2 separate regions of the Homo sapiens genome follow, and region 2 is linked to region 1. The links are contacts of gene promoters, found by promoter capture Hi-C in blood cells and fetal thymus (Javierre and others, 2016). All regions are on one chromosome and are shown on one strand. The core of a region is centred on a gene start or on the middle of the fragment in contact, and the rest is flanking DNA. Distances in the headings are between cores, read along the strand shown.

Region 1 (2,919 bases), core at 134-2,633:
TTTCATCTCTCCTCTTCCCTCCCTTCCTCTTTCTCCTCTGACCCTCTCCCTTCCTGTCTTCTCCCCTAACCTGCTGTCCTGGCAGAAGTAGCTAAGGAACCACACAGAGGAACAGAAGGCAGGATGGTCTACATTTACCTGTTACTTCACCAATTCACTTCTAACTTAAAAAAAAATGGTTTCTGGCAACAAATCCTGATTGACACCTTAGTACTGTGGGCAGTTAAACTACAGCAAAGCCAGCGAGGGGCTCCTCTGTGAGTGCAAAGCATAGCTTTGGAGTCTAACCTGCTTGGGTTCAAATTCCAGAAGCCCAGCCCTTATTTGCTGTGCGACCTTATTTAATTCCTATGTGAAATGGGGCTCCTGAAGCTGTCCTTACTGTGTTTTAAGAAAGTGCTGGCCCTGGCCTGGGCACTGATTCTGGTGTGAGAGGAGGCCTCCCTCCCTCCGCCGTGCCAGGTTAATGAAAACACTGAGGCATGTTTTGGAAGTGGGAAGTGCAGGATGGGACCGGAGTCAGGAGCCCAGAAGAGCAGGGCAGCAGGCAGGCTGACCTTCGGAGACTAAGGGTGAAGAGCAAGAGACTCAGGGGCACAACAAGCCCTGGGTTCAAATCCTGGCTCCATCACCAACTCATCCGGTAAAGGTGGACAATTTTATAACTCTTTAAGCCTCAGTTTTCACATCTGAAAAGGGGATAACGAAAGTAGGACTCTCACTTGCTGTGAGGAGTAAGAGGCATATCGTGTTAAAGCACTTGGCCCAGAGCAAGGCGAGCCCTCTACAGACAGCGATTGTGAGACAGACCCCCCCTGCTGCTATTATCTTGGCGTTCGATTTCCATCAGTGAAATCAGAGTTGTGCCAGAGGCCTCTAGGCTCTCTCCCCAACTCTAGGATCAGTGCTTCTAGGAAACTGGTTAAGGACAAGGTGAACAAAAAAGGTGTAGCCAGTGGCCGGGCTCATCTGTCTTGCTCAGGTTGTAGCCCCTAAATTGCTTAACAGAGGTGCCAGGCGCAGTGCCCCCTCTCAGCAATGAGCCCGAGGCCCGCAATGCGCCAGGCTGGCGGGGGAGGGACCCTGCGCGCTGCGGCCGAAGGGCACAAGTGCCCAGGCTTCAGCGTCCCTGCCTGGTGGCAGTCCTGGGTCGGAGGGGATGCTCCATGGACGCCCAAGCACTCTCCTGCTCGTTCATCACTCACCGTCCAGTCATCGCGCAGTCCAGAAGCCACTGCATGTGTCGTGTCCTCGCTTGCACCGGAGCTGCGCCCGCAGCGCCTGCTGACCCCAGGCTTCAGCTGCTCGGGGCCAGGCCCGCCCCTCGCCCCGCCCCTCGCCCCTCGCCCCGCCCCGCTCCCCGCCTCTCGCCCGGCACGGCCAAAGGTGCCGCCCCGGTCTCTCCGTCCCGCCCCGAGCACGCCCCTCACTCCGCACCGGCCAATGGCACCGCCCCGTCCGCCCCGCTCTGGGAACGCCGGTAGGTTCCGGGTGCAGGGCGGTGGCCTAGGGGCGGCGGGGAAGATTTGGGGCCTGCGACCTGCCAGGTGTCCCCAGGCCATTGTTCAGCTCGCCGCGCGCTCCCGAGTTCCCGAGGGCGCCCCGGGACGCGAGGAGAAAGCAGCCCGACTCAGCCCCGAGAGGTTCGGTGTGCGGGCAGCGGCCAGGGACTTTGCGGGGTAGCGCGGACTCCTGGACTTCCAACAAGGGCCGCTGCGCAGGCGCTGCAATCACTGCAGGCACTTGTCTGCATGCCTGGTGGGGCTTGGAGTCTGGGGAGGCTTATCAGTAAAGCCCAGAGCATTTGCTATTTATTGCTCAAGGGGCACCTTTGTACAGTCTGGCCGTTTGCTTGGCATGGCCTCTTAGAACTCCTTATTGTTTAAGAAATCCGATCTGGTGAATAAGAAGTTAGTCTTTCTCTCCCAGTCACTGCCTCCTGGACGAATATTTGCCAGCACGGAGGCAGAGAGGACAGAAAACCACAAGCCATTTGGGGAACTGGGAACAGTTCAGTGTTTCTGGGGTGTGGGGGTGTCAAGGTGGGGGATGGGGTTGATGGAAAACATTTGCAATTTCTGCTTTACCTCACGATTCCCAGCTCTGACCTCTGGACCTGTTCTCTCCCACCCCTAACATAAATCATTTTAGTTTCATTCAGTGTGCGTTTCCTAATATTTTTAGGGTCTCATGGCCATTTTAGAATCTGATATGGATCTTCTAGAAAGTGCAGGTGGCCATATGCACCAAAATCAGCCTGGGATTTGAGTCTCATGGGTCCCTGAACTTCGACTTAGAGGGGCTGTGCTAATGCTTGTATGGCTGCTGTATGACTTATGTTGGAACCCCCACCTGCAAAAAGTGACAGGACTGAAGATACCCAGTCCAGGGGCCCTCCCGTTTCTGCGTTTGCTTGAATTTTTGGAGAATGGCCCATCCTTTGACAGCTCTGAGGCTCCCTGTGGTTGGTGACTTGTCATGACACATTTGCTCTTCCACAGCCCTCATCAAAGCTGAGACAAATAATCGGGTGCTTCCAAAGGTTTTTTAAAAGTGGGTAAAATTCAATATAACTGTCAACCTCTGAGCATGAGATCCTAAGAATTTAATCACTCCTGATAGGAGAAGTAAACATAGCACCAGGGTGACATAACAGTTTCCCTGGGCTCTCCAGAACTCGAGTGTGAATCATTCTCTCTGACCTAATTAATGCTGTTCACAGGGCCATGACTGGCTCTGAGTGAGGACTGGGTTTGGGACAGCAACCCCATGTGTCCTGTGCACCCATTGTGGGCTCAGACACTATGCTAGTGCTTTACATTGGGGATCCCATGCAATTCCCCCAGCACTCCTGGGCAGTTGGTGTTACTGCTTGCATTTTTTAAAATTTCCATTTTTATTTTAAATTTAGGGGATACA
Region 2 (3,336 bases), core at 176-2,675, 710 kb before region 1:
TGTTCTCATTGGTTTCAAAGAACATCTTTATTTCTGCCTTCATTTCGTTATTTACCCAGTAGTCATTCAGGAGCAGGTTGTTCAGTTTCCATGTAGTTGTGCAGTTTTGAGTGAGTTTCTTAATCCTGAGTTATAATTTGATTGCACTGTGGTCTGAGAGACAGTTTGTTGTGATTTCTGTTGTTTTACATTTGCTAAGGAGTGCTTTACTTCCAGCTATGTGGTCAACTTTGGAATAAGTGCGATGTGGTGCTGAGAAGAATTTGCCAGACATTAAAATGTCTTTTAATTGGGGCATTTAGCCCACTCACATGTAAGGCTAATATTGTTATGTGTGAATTTGATCCTGTCTTTATGATGTTAGCTGGTTATTTTGCCCATTAATTGTTGCAGTTTCTTCACAGCATCAATGGTCTTTACCATTTGGCATGTTTTTGCAGTGGCTGGTACCGGTTGTTCCTTTCCATGTTTAGTGTTTCCTTCAGGAGCTCTTGTAAGGCAGGCCTGGTGGTGACAAAATCTCTCAGCATTTGCTTGTCTGTAAAGGATTTTATTTCTCCTTCACTTACGAAGCTTAGTTTGGCTAAGGCCAATATTACCCTGATACCAAATCCTGACAGACATAATGAAAACTACAGATCATCATCTCTTGTGATTATAGACACAGAAATCCTGAGGAAATATTTTCAGATCAAATCCATCAACATATGTAAAGGATTACATACCAGGTACAAATGGGATTTACCCCAGTAATGCAAGATTGATTTGACACATAAAAAGTAATGTAATATGTGAATAAAAAAGTAAAGAAAACCAAATGATTATTTCAATAGACAATGAAAAAAGCGTTTGATAAAATTGGCACCCCTTCATGATTAAAAAGAAAACCCACCTAAAGCAGGAATAGAAGGGAAGCTCGTCAACCTTATATTGGTAATCTATGAAAACCCCACGGTTAACATTATACCTAAAGACTCAATGGTTTCCTTCTACAATCAAGAATTAGACAAGGATGTCCAGTCTCACCACTTTTATTCAATCTTGTACTGAAGGTTCCAGAGCAGGGCAATTAGGCAAGAAAGGGAAATAAGCCCAGTGCAGTGGCTCAGGCCTGTAATCCCAGCTCTTTGGGAGGCCAGGGTGGGTGGGTCACCTGAGGTCAGCAGTTCGAGACCAGCCTGGCCAACTTGGTAAAACCTTGTCTCTACTAAAAATACAAAAATTTGCCTGGTGTGGTGGCAGGTGCCTGTAATCCCAGCTATTTGGGAAGCTGAGACAGGCGAATCGCTTGAACTCGGGAGGCGGAGGTTACAATAAGCGGAGATCGTGCCATTTCACTTCAGCCCGGGCAACAGAGTGGGACTTTCACCCCCTCCAAAAAAAAAAAAAAAAAAAAAAAGAAAGAAAAGAGCATATAGATTAGAAAGGGAGAAGTAAAACTCTATTTGTAAATGACATGATCTTGTATATAGAGCTTTTATAGAGAGCGTTTAGGAAGATTTAAATAACTAAATGAACGAAATAAACAGTTCAGCACAGTTGCAGTGTACAGGATCAAGATATTAAAATCGGTTGTGTTTCTATAAACCAGCAATGAGCAATCTGTAAATAAGACAGTGATTCCATTTGTAATAGCATTTAAAGGAATAAAATACTTAGGAATAAATTTAATAAAAGAGAACAAAACTTGTGCTTTAAAAATTATAAAACATTGAAATAAATTAGATATAAACTGAAAAATAGTATGTATTTATGGATTAGAAGACTTAGTATTAAGATTGCAGTACTCTCCAAATCTACAGACTTAATACAATCCCTGTCAAAATCCCAGCTGACATTTTTGCAAAATGGGCATACTTAAAATTCATATGGCAATTCAAGGAGTCCAGAATAGCCAACAATCTAAAAAGAACAAATTGGAGGCCTCACACTTCCTGATTTCAGAACTTACTACAAAGCTACATTAATTAAGATGTGGTGGTACTGGCATAGGTAGATCAACAGAATAAAGAGTCTGGAAATAAACCTTCACATTTACAGTAAATTGGTTTTTAACAAGGATCCAAGACAATTCAATTGGGAATGAATGGTAATTCTGACAAATGATACTGGAACAACTGGTTATCCACATGCAAAAGAATAAAGTTAGACTCTACCTCACACCATACACAAAACTAAATTGAAATTGGACAGTACACCTAAACATAAGAGCTAAAACTACAATTTTTAGAAACATATATAAGTCAATCTTTATTACCTTGGGTTAAGCCAAGCTTTTTAAGTATGATAAAAGAAAAATAGCCAAATTAGAGTTTAACAAAATTAAAAACCTTTGTGTTTCAAAAGATACTATCAAAAGACAACCCACAAAATGAGAGAAAATATTTACCATTCATATATCTGTTAAGTGTTTTTATCTAGAATATGTAATATAAAAACTCATACAACTCAATAAAAAATCCAATTAAAAAATAGACAAAGTATATGAATAGGCATTTCTCCAAAGAATGTATGCAAATGGCCAATAATCACATAAAAAAGATGCACAATATCATTAGTTTTTAAAGAAATGGAAGTCAACCACAGTGAGATACTACTTCACACCCACTAGGATAGCTTTAATCAAAAGGACAGAAACAAGTATTGTCAAGGGTGTGGAGAAATTGGCACCCTCATTCATTGTTGATGGGACTATAAAATGATCCATACCATTTAGAAAACAGTTTGGTAGTTCCACAAATTGCCAAACATAAGAGTTACCACATTATCTAGCAAAGCTACTTCAAAGAGAAAGGAAAACATATGTTTACACAAAAACTTGCAGTTGAATGTTCATCTTAGCACTATATGTAACAGCCCAAAATTGGAAACGACTCAAATGCTCATCAACTGATGGATGGATAAACAACATGAGATATATTGCTACAGGGGACTATTATTCAGCAATAAAAAGGAGTGAAATACTGATATATCCTAGAACATGATGAACTTTGAAAACATTATGCTAAGTGAAAGAAGCCAGTCACAAAAAAATCATATATGATTCTATTTATGTGAAATGTCCAGAATAGACCAATTTGGAGATAGAAAGTAGATTAGTGGTTGCCTAGGGTTGAGTGGGGGACTGGGGGAATTTGGGAGTGTTGGTTACAGGGTATGGGGTTCCTTTTAGAGGTAATGAAAATTTTCTAAAGCAAATGTGGTGATTGTTGCACAACTCTGTGTACATCATAAAAACCAGTGAATTTTAGGCTTTAAATGAGTGAATTTTATGGCATGTGAATTATATTTCAATAAAGCTTTTTTTTTCTTATTTAATGATGGAGTCTTGCTCTG

What was found. The method cuts DNA at HindIII sites, captures the fragments that hold promoters and counts their contacts. A CHiCAGO score of 5 or more calls a contact.
Region 2: a fragment that was not itself captured here is called in contact with the fragment with the promoter of TMEM72-AS1 in region 1 in 1 of 17 cell types (neutrophils); the score reaches 5.2 in neutrophils.

What each region holds. Positions count from the first base shown.
Region 1 is chr10:44,958,153-44,961,071 of GRCh38, reverse strand. TMEM72-AS1 (TMEM72 antisense RNA 1) reads left to right here and starts at 1,383. Exons shown (of 8, transcript NR_033842.1): 1 at 1,383-1,480. It overlaps RASSF4 (Ras association domain family member 4), which reads right to left and starts at 1,270. Exons shown (of 11, transcript NM_032023.4): 1 at 1,206-1,270. RefSeq lists a silencer at 1,300-1,519 and an enhancer at 1,297-1,591. The HindIII fragment of the contact is 10,910 bases long and covers 1-2,919 here.
Region 2 is chr10:45,665,522-45,668,857 of GRCh38, reverse strand. All of the region lies in intron 1 of ZFAND4 (zinc finger AN1-type containing 4), which reads left to right. Among named protein-coding and RNA genes, the nearest start is that of ZFAND4, 5.6 kb to the left of the region's middle. The HindIII fragment of the contact is 1,700 bases long and covers 576-2,275 here.